Regions from separate parts of the Homo sapiens genome. Here all the other regions are linked to region 3. Evidence: promoter capture Hi-C in human tissues and cell types (Jung and others, 2019). All regions are on one chromosome and are shown on one strand. The core of a region is centred on a gene start or on the middle of the fragment in contact, and the rest is flanking DNA. Distances in the headings are between cores, read along the strand shown. Region 1 overlaps ADGRD1 (adhesion G protein-coupled receptor D1). Region 2 overlaps LINC01257 (long intergenic non-protein coding RNA 1257). Region 3 holds the start of MMP17 (matrix metallopeptidase 17).

Evidence for each region. Contacts are between HindIII fragments. The study calls those that stand out against the background at their distance.
Region 1: a fragment that was not itself captured here is called in contact with the fragment with the promoter of MMP17 in region 3 in 1 of the 25 tissues and cell types used here (lymphoblastoid cells).
Region 2: a contact is called between a fragment that was not itself captured here and the fragment with the promoter of MMP17 in region 3, in 1 of the 25 tissues and cell types used here (dorsolateral prefrontal cortex).

The regions. Positions count from the first base shown.
Region 1 is chr12:131,126,623-131,129,322 of GRCh38, reverse strand. All of the region lies in intron 20 of ADGRD1 (adhesion G protein-coupled receptor D1), which reads right to left. Among named protein-coding and RNA genes, the nearest start is that of LINC01257, 37 kb to the left of the region's middle. The HindIII fragment of the contact is 4,092 bases long and covers 1-2,700 here.
Region 2 is chr12:131,210,692-131,213,435 of GRCh38, reverse strand. LINC01257 (long intergenic non-protein coding RNA 1257) reads right to left here. Exons shown (of 5, transcript NR_026670.2): 5 at 505-1,231. Among named protein-coding and RNA genes, the nearest start is that of LINC01257, 47 kb to the right of the region's middle. The HindIII fragment of the contact is 6,972 bases long and covers 1-2,744 here.
Region 3 is chr12:131,826,882-131,829,695 of GRCh38, reverse strand. MMP17 (matrix metallopeptidase 17) reads right to left here and starts at 1,303. Exons shown (of 10, transcript NM_016155.7): 1 at 1,043-1,303. The coding sequence starts at 1,201. RefSeq lists a silencer at 1,309-1,438. The HindIII fragment of the contact is 32,715 bases long and covers 1-2,814 here.

The sequences.
Region 1 (2,700 bases), core at 62-2,561, 700 kb after region 3:
CACACCCAGACAGCAGGGCGGGGCTGCCACTCACACCCAGACAGGAGGGCCGGCCTGTCACTCACACCCAGACAGCAGGGCGGGCCTGTCACTCACACCCAGACAGCAGGGCGGGGCTGTCACTCACACCAGACAGCAGGGCGGGCCTGTCACTCACACTCAGACAGCAGGGCGGGCCTGTCACTCACACCCAGACAGCAGGGCCGGCCTGTCACTCACACCCAGACAGCAGGGCGGGGCTGTCACTCACACCCAGACAGCAGGGCCGGCCTGTCACTCACACCAGACAGCAGGGCGGGCCTGTCACTCACACCAGACAGCAGGGCGGGGCTGCCACTCACACCCAGACAGGAGGGCCGGCCTGTCACTCACACCCAGACAGCAGGGCGGGGCTGTCACTCACACCCAGACAGCAGGGCCGGCCTGTCACTCACACCCAGACAGCAGGGTGGGGCTGCCGTCCACACCCAGACAGCAGGGCAGGGCTGCTGCCCACACCCACTCTATGGAACACTTTGTGGGTCTGAGACAGACTCAGGCAGCTCTTCCTTGGCGAAGAAGCCACACCCCACATACACTGAAGGCCGCCATGGGGTGGGTATGTAGTTACAGTCCCCCTATCTGCACAAAACCCCAGGATACCCATGAAACCAGCATCACGGGTTGCCTGTTTGGAGGGAGGGTGGAAACCAGGGAATGCAAAAACATACATAGGCAGACACATTTATGCATAGATTCTTAAGCTTTTCCTGTAAATTTTGTGTTGCCATTTCATAAATCAGATTCTTTAAATTTTAGTTTTAAACAATTATAAATTAAAAGGAAATAATATGAAACCCATTTCCTGTGAATGACGGAGCAGTGTCCTTGGGGTCAGGTGGAATAGAAACTCAGCCATGCAGTGTTCCAGTGATTCAGGGGATGGAGAAACCGTGAAGCCTGGGACCCATGAGAGGGATGCCTGGAGATGCTGGAGAGGATCTCGAGCAACTTGAGTGAGTGCAGAGTTCCCATCAACCAACACCCCACCTGAGCTCAGGGTCCCATCACAACCAACCCAACCAACACCCCACCTGAGCTCAGGGTCCCATCACAACCAACCCAACCAACACCCCACCTGAGCTCAGAATCCCATCACAACCAACACAATCAACACCCCACCTGAGCTCAGAATCCCATCACAACCAACACAGTCAAACACCCCACCTGAGCTCAGAATCCCATCACAACCAACACAACCAACACCCCACCTGAGCTCAGAGTCCCATCACAACCAACCCAACCAACACCCCACCTGAGCTCAGAGTCCCATCACAACCAACCCAACCAACACCCCACCTGAGCTCAGGGTCCCATCACAACCAACCCAACCAACACCCCACCTGAGCTCAGGGTCCCATCACAACCAACCCAACCAACACCCCACCTGAGCTCAGGGTCCCATCACAACCAACCCAACCAACACCCCACCTGAGCTCAGAATCCCATCACAACCAACACAACCAACACCTCACCTGAGCTCAGGGTCCCATCACAACCAACACAACCAACACCCCACCTGAGCTCAGAATCCCACCACAACCAACACAACCAACACCCCACCTGAGCTCAGAGTCCCATCACAACCAACACAATCAACACCTCACCTGAGCTCAGAGTCCCATAACAACCAACCCAACCAACACCCCACCTGAGCTCAGGGTCCCATCACAACCAACCCAACCAACACCCCACCTGAGCTCAGGGTCCCATCACAACCAACCCAACCAACACCTCACCTGAGCTCAGGGTCCCATCACAACCAACCCAACCAACACCCCATCTGAGCTCAGGGTCCCATCACAACCAACACCCACATGAGCTCAGAGGTCTCATCATCACTCCTGCTTTGCCTCTGGAGGCTATAAAGCGTGGTTCTGCCCCGGACCTCTCAGCTGTAAAGCTGAAAGATGCACACATGACTGTTCCCAGACTTTTCTGACAAGGCCACCGAAAGGATGATCAACTTGCAGCAAAATGTTTTGCCAACATGAAACACTACGAGTGATTAATTTGAGATTTCAAGTCCTTTACTTTATCTTGACCGCTTTGCGTTAAGATGCACTCTAAGTGTTTCATAACAGTTAAGCTGATCACATTATTACTTGTCAGAATTCATCATCTTTCCTTTTTCTCCAAAGATTTTGCTGGGTCTTTTTTTTTCTTTTAGCCTGGGTCAGTCTGGTTTCATTTTCCAGGCACATTTTTTCCATCTTATCAGGATGATACATTTGCTGTGGCTTCCTAAGAGGAGGAGCGGCTCACCATGGCCTCCAATCCTGCATCGGTGCGGTGGGGGACTTTGGCTGCGAGTGGCACAAATCTGACATTTCATGAAAATATAATACAGAATCAGGCCTGGCCCCCCTCACTCCATTTCACTCATCCTCATCCATGCCTTGCTGTATGGTACACCCACACTCGACTACAAATCGGAAAATGCCCTGGGACTGAGGCATGTACAGTGTGAGTACCATGGATATTCCAGCAGCTAAGCATCTCCCCACTAAAGGCAGATGTCAAAGAAACAACTCACAGGCCTCACTGCAGAAGAAAAACTGGAATGCACATGGAGGCAGTAGAACTGTAAAGCAAAGGTCTCGTGGCTACTATGAAGGCCAAGATCACGGTGATCTCTGGTGGGAGGAGGGAGGCAGGACT
Region 2 (2,744 bases), core at 155-2,654, 620 kb after region 3:
ACCTCTTTCCTTTATAAATTACCTGGTCTCGGGGATTTCCTTATGGCAATGTGAGAACAGACAAGTACCTGACCCCACCCTCAAAATTATATGCACATTCCAGGTCACTCCCTATTTTCTATCCCTCACCTCCAGCTCCTGGCAACCATGAATCTGCTTTCTGTCTCTGTAGTGCTGGCTGCTCTGGACGTTTTCTATGAGTAGGATCATAAAACACATGGCCATGGTGTGTGCCTTCTTTCTTCTGGCATTATGTTTTTGAGGTGCAGCCGCATGGTGGCCTGTGTCAGTGCTTCATTCTCTCCATGGCTGAGGACACAGGCACATTCCATGGTGTGAACACACCATGCTTTGTTTATTCATTCGTCTTTCAATGGGCATTGGGGTTGTTCCCACTTTTTGGGTACTGTGAATAATGCTGCTATGAACATTCTCATACTAGTTTTGGTGTGAACATATGTCTGCAATTCCCTTGTGTATAAATACCTAGGAGCAGAAGCCGGGTCAGATGGTAGCTCTGTTTAATTTTTTAAGGAACTGCCAAACTGTTTCTACATTGGTTGCACCATGTTACTTTCCCACCAGCAATCTATGAGAAATCCAGTTTCTCCACATCTTCACTGCACTTGTCATTTCTGTTTTGTTTTTTATTATAGCCCTCAGCATGAGTGGAAAGTGGTACTTCCATAATGAGTAGCTGCTGAGTATCTTTTCACGTACTCATTGGTCATTTGTGTATCTTCTTTGGACAAAGGTCTCTTCGAATCCTTTGCCTACTGTTTAATTTGGTTATTTTTCTTTATATTGTTGAGTTCTAAGAATTTTTATATATTCTGGATACTTGTCCCAGATGTATGATTTGCAAATATTTCACTCATTCTCTGGGTTTTCTTCTCGCTTTTTTGATCATGAACTTTAATGCACAAAAGTTTTAAATTTTGATGAAATTCAATTTATGTATTTTTTTTCCTGTGGTTGTATGTGCTTCTGATAGCACATCTAAGAGAGTGCTACCTAATCCAAGACCATGAAAATTTACACTTACTTTTTTTATAAGAGTTTTATACTTTTAGCTCTTACACTTAGGTCTTTGTTGCATTTTGTGTTTGTTTTAGTCTAAATCTCTGACATGAGTAAAGCAGGACTCACCCGATAGCAGGTGCTCTCAGATCCCTGCCCATCCATTTCCGGCCAAAAGAGCCTTCAAGACAGGTCCAGCAGTGCCAGGAAGCTGAGGAGGAGGGTTGTTGTGACCACAAGGTCTGGAGACGGGAGGGCAGGGGTGTGTGTGTGTGTGACTATGTGTGAGTGTGTGTATGTATGTGTGTGTGTGTGTGTGTGTGTGTGTGTGTGTCCCTCTTGCAGCTTCTTAGTGTACCTGCAAATGCCCCCAAGAGCAGTCGGCATGCCTGTCCTGGGCCTGTGGCCCTGATGCCCTCCCATCCATGCCCTGCCCTTCCTGCTCTGCTGTGAATCTGTGGGGTCTGGGGGAGCAGAGGCATAGAACTGGGCTTCCCACACCCCTGGTCAGCTGGCCTCAGGCTGGGTTGAGACAGCGAGAGGCCCTGGTGGGCGATGGGGCCAGGGAGGACCTGGGGTATTTTCCCACCCTTCTCCAGAGACTTCCACATCCTAGAGCGGGGCTAGAAGCTGACGTGGTCCCCACAGCCCAAGTACCCCAGTGCCCTTTCTGCACCCCCTGCAAGGCAGAATGAATGTATTTTCTTAAAGTTATGGTTAATTCCCTCTTGTTTCTGCAAAGCCCCCACACCCACACCTTCTACCACATTACTTTGAACTTGAGTGAGTTTTCCTAGAATTGACTAAATTATGTTTTCTGCATCAGTCAGAATATTGTGGTAAAAGAGAGACTAACTCCAGTTACATAAAAGTAATTGCATTTGGCATGACTGAGCTTATGAATTCTGAAATGCAAGCCCTCCGCAGCCGACACAGGAGGCTGCTGTTGGGATGCCTGTCACAGCGCAATCTGTCCTCATTCAGCCCGGCCTCACCCCCCACCATCCCCTAACCAATGGACACGCAGGGCACTGGGCCCAAGGAGAGCCTGCTCTGAGTGTGAGTCCAGGTAGAAGGCCCCGCTCAGGAACCCAAAGCAAAAAGAGGTCAGCATGGTGCCATGTCTACAGCGTTGCCACTGCTCAGCCCATTGATTAGGGGACAGCTTCCCCCACTCAGCTTCCCATACCCTCCAGTTCTCCCGCAGACCTAGGAATAGAGCCAGGCAGGCTCTGGCCCACGGGCTCGAGTGGTGAGAACTGGGGCTCCTGGTCCACATCCCACGCCATCCCAGCAGCTCAGGGGTTGCTGGCAGAGGCGAGGACACAGGACTGAAGGGGCTGTAGCCACGGTTCAGCCACACGAGCCTGGGGGAGAAAGGCAGCCCCTAGGCATGGCTGTGTTCTCTCCTCTGCAAGAGGACTGGGCTGCCTTTTTCTGCTGGACCGAGGGTCTCCAGCTCAGAGAACCCTGGGACTGCCTTTCCAGTGGGAGTGAGAAGGCAGCTGCCAGCTCCCCCACCCAGCTGCTCACAGGCCCACGGCCCCATCCCACACACCCCTCCCCAGGGAGAGACAGTCACCCTCCCACGTCTGCCCTCCTGCCTCTGCTCTTCACAACACCATTTTTCTCTTCTTTGGGGAAAGTCTGCCCTCATCCTGTGTGTTGGGCCAGGCTTAGCTGTGTCAGCACACAAACACCTAAAACTCAACGACCTCATGAGG
Region 3 (2,814 bases), core at 54-2,553:
GACCCCAAGGTTTTGGAGCTCCTGAATGTCCACTGCGCTGGGCGAGGGGCCCTGCCAGGACCCCACTGGGAGACTGTCCGCGGACGAGGGCCAGGCCGAGTACTTGTGTGGGGCGGGGAGGCCTCGGCTCCTGGCCCGACTCCCTGGGTAGGAGTCCATTGAAGGCAGCGGTGGGGCAGGAGCCTCAGAAGGAACCAACGAACCCAGCGGGAGTTCACCCGGCCGCCCCAGCGGGGGGGCGCTGACCCCACGACGTGTGCTCTAAATCTTCCGGGTCCACAGGAGACGCGAGTCCCGGCTGCGGAACAGGGGAGGGGGCTGTAGGAAGAGGCCACGTCGCTGCCCCCAGGCAGGGTTTCTAAGCTGAGCTGGGGACAGCTACTGGGTGTGGAGTGAGGAAGGCTCTCCCCGCGCCCCCGGCTCAGCACTGTACCAGGGCAAGGCAGGGCCAGCCTGGCCGACCTGGGGTGGAGGGGAAGGAGGCTGAGGGCCAGGTCCTTGTCCAGTGGGGAGCTGGGGGCCAGCATCCCTGTGCCCCCAACACCCTCAACCGAGCAAACTCGGGGGCTCAAGGCTTTCGGGGTGCCCCCACTCCGTAGCCCCTGCCCTTCCTCGCTTTGTGGGTGCGTGCTCCTGCCCCCGCCACTCCCACCCGGAACGCACGCAGCGCGCAGAGCTCGGGGCGGCCGCGATGCCTGCTCTCGCCCAGCCCGGCTGCTCCGGGGCTGCTGCAAGCCGGCGACCCGGGCTCCGGGTGGGCGACCCCCTCACAACTCCACGGGCTCCTGCGGCTGCGGCGCGCTCCCAGCGCACGGAGCCGGGACGGCAGCCGGCGCCTCCCCAGGACTCGCGTGCGCTCGCCCGGTCGCTCAGCCCGCGTCCCTGCCTCAGTCTCCCCACCCAGGAAATGGGTCCAGGGCGCCAGGGCTCCCGCGCGACGCCGACGTGCACTGCTGGGGTCTTCCCGGTCCCCGCCACCCGGCCCGCGGAGACCCCCGGCTCCGGCCCAGGAGCTCCGCGCCCGTCCCGCCCGCGCGCTCACCACTCCCAGGCTGAGGTCCTCGGCGCGCGGCGCGGGTGCGGGCGCGGCGCAGCCCCCGCGGGTCCCCAGCGCCAGCAGCAGCAGCAGCGGCAGCGGCAGCCGCGAGAGTCCGGGCCCTGGGGGCGGCGGGCCGGGTCCCCGGGCTGCGCGGCGCCGCATGGCGCTCACATGGGCCCGCGGGCGGCGTGCAGGGTCCCGCGCCCTCCGCTTCGCGTTCCGCAGCCCGGCGCCCTCCGCTCTCCGCGGCGCCCCCGCCGGACTGAGCCCCGCGCGGCAGCCTCAAGCGGCGGGGCGGGGCCATGCAAATGTATGCTAACGAGGCCGGCCGCCTTAAAGGGCCCGCGCCGCCTCGGACGCTGCCACCCCCGCCCGCCCCGCCGTGTCCGCGACGGGACTGGGTCCGCGGCATCACAGGGAAGGCGTTTCCCCGGGTGTCTTAGGACGCTCTTGGGGCGGCGGGGACGCGCGGGATGGGCGCGGAGGCGGGGGTCGGGGCGCCTGCGGGGAGCTGACCCTGACTCCCCTCTCCGGCCGCGCTCCCGGGTCCACCCCCCACGGCGCCGAGGCCCGGGTTCAGACCCGGGTTCAGGCCCCGGAGCCGCCGCCGCAGCGCAGCAGGTGGGCGCTTGGTGGAGCCCGCGGACCGCGGGAGAGGGAGGGTGGGGCTTGGGGGGCGCGGGGGACTGGAGGGCGAGGGCGGGTGTTGGGGGGGCTGGGGTCCTCGGCGGAGGCTCTGCGGTCCCTGCGGGCCTGGGAGCGAGAATGTTAACTTGTAATGTTTGTTGGAGCGCAGCGTGTGCCTGGCACATGCCCAGGAGTTACATAAATAATTTCATTTACTTACAACATTTATGAGATGAAAACTATGATTTCCATTTCGCAGACAAAGAAACTGAGGCCCAAAGAAATGAAGTAACTTATGGGAGGTCCTGGAGCGGGCAAGCGGCAGAGCCAGGGTCAGAGCCCGAGCAGGCGCTTGTGTGGATTGAACTCGTGCAAGTTGCGTACAGGCTGCCCACCGAGTGGGAGATCTTGGGAGAGGGCAGGGGGTGAGGTTCAAGGGTAACCCTTGCCTTTATTCAGCTTCTCCTCGTGCTGGACAGCATGGCTTCCCCTCCTTCCCAGGCCCTCCTGCTCCACCACCCCAAATCGCAGCTGGTACTGTCAGGACTGAGGTCTCATTCTACGGACAGGGAAACTGAGGCTCGGCCCCTTTTACCAGAACTGGTCTCAGGGAAGTGGTGCCCCTCCCCTCCTGTGAGGGCCGACTCCCCCCAACCACCCCCCCCCCCCCCCCCCCGCTTCCCTGGGTACTCTGGCCCATCCTGTCCCTGCTGCCCTCAGAGCCTCCCTGGCCCGGTCTGAACAGGGTGATTCCACACCTGCTTCAGATGACCTTGGTTCGGACTGATGGGATCACCTGTAGGAGGTGGGGACTTTCACAGGACATCCCGGATTGTTTTTTCTTTCTTTCTTTTTTTTTTTTTTGCTCTGTTGCCCAGGCTGGAGTGCAGTGGCACGATCTTGGCTCACTGTAATTTCTGCTTCCTAAATTCAAATGATTCTCCTGTCTCAGCCTCCTGAGTAGATGGGATTTCAAGCGTGCACAACCGTGCCCAGCTAATTTTTGTATTTTTAGTAGAGACGGGGTTTCACCATGTTGGCCAGGCTGGTCTTGAACTCCTGACTTCAGGTGATCAGCCCGCCTTGGCCTCCCAAAGTGCTGGGATTACAGGCGTGAGCCACCGCACCTGGCCTCATCCGGGATTTTG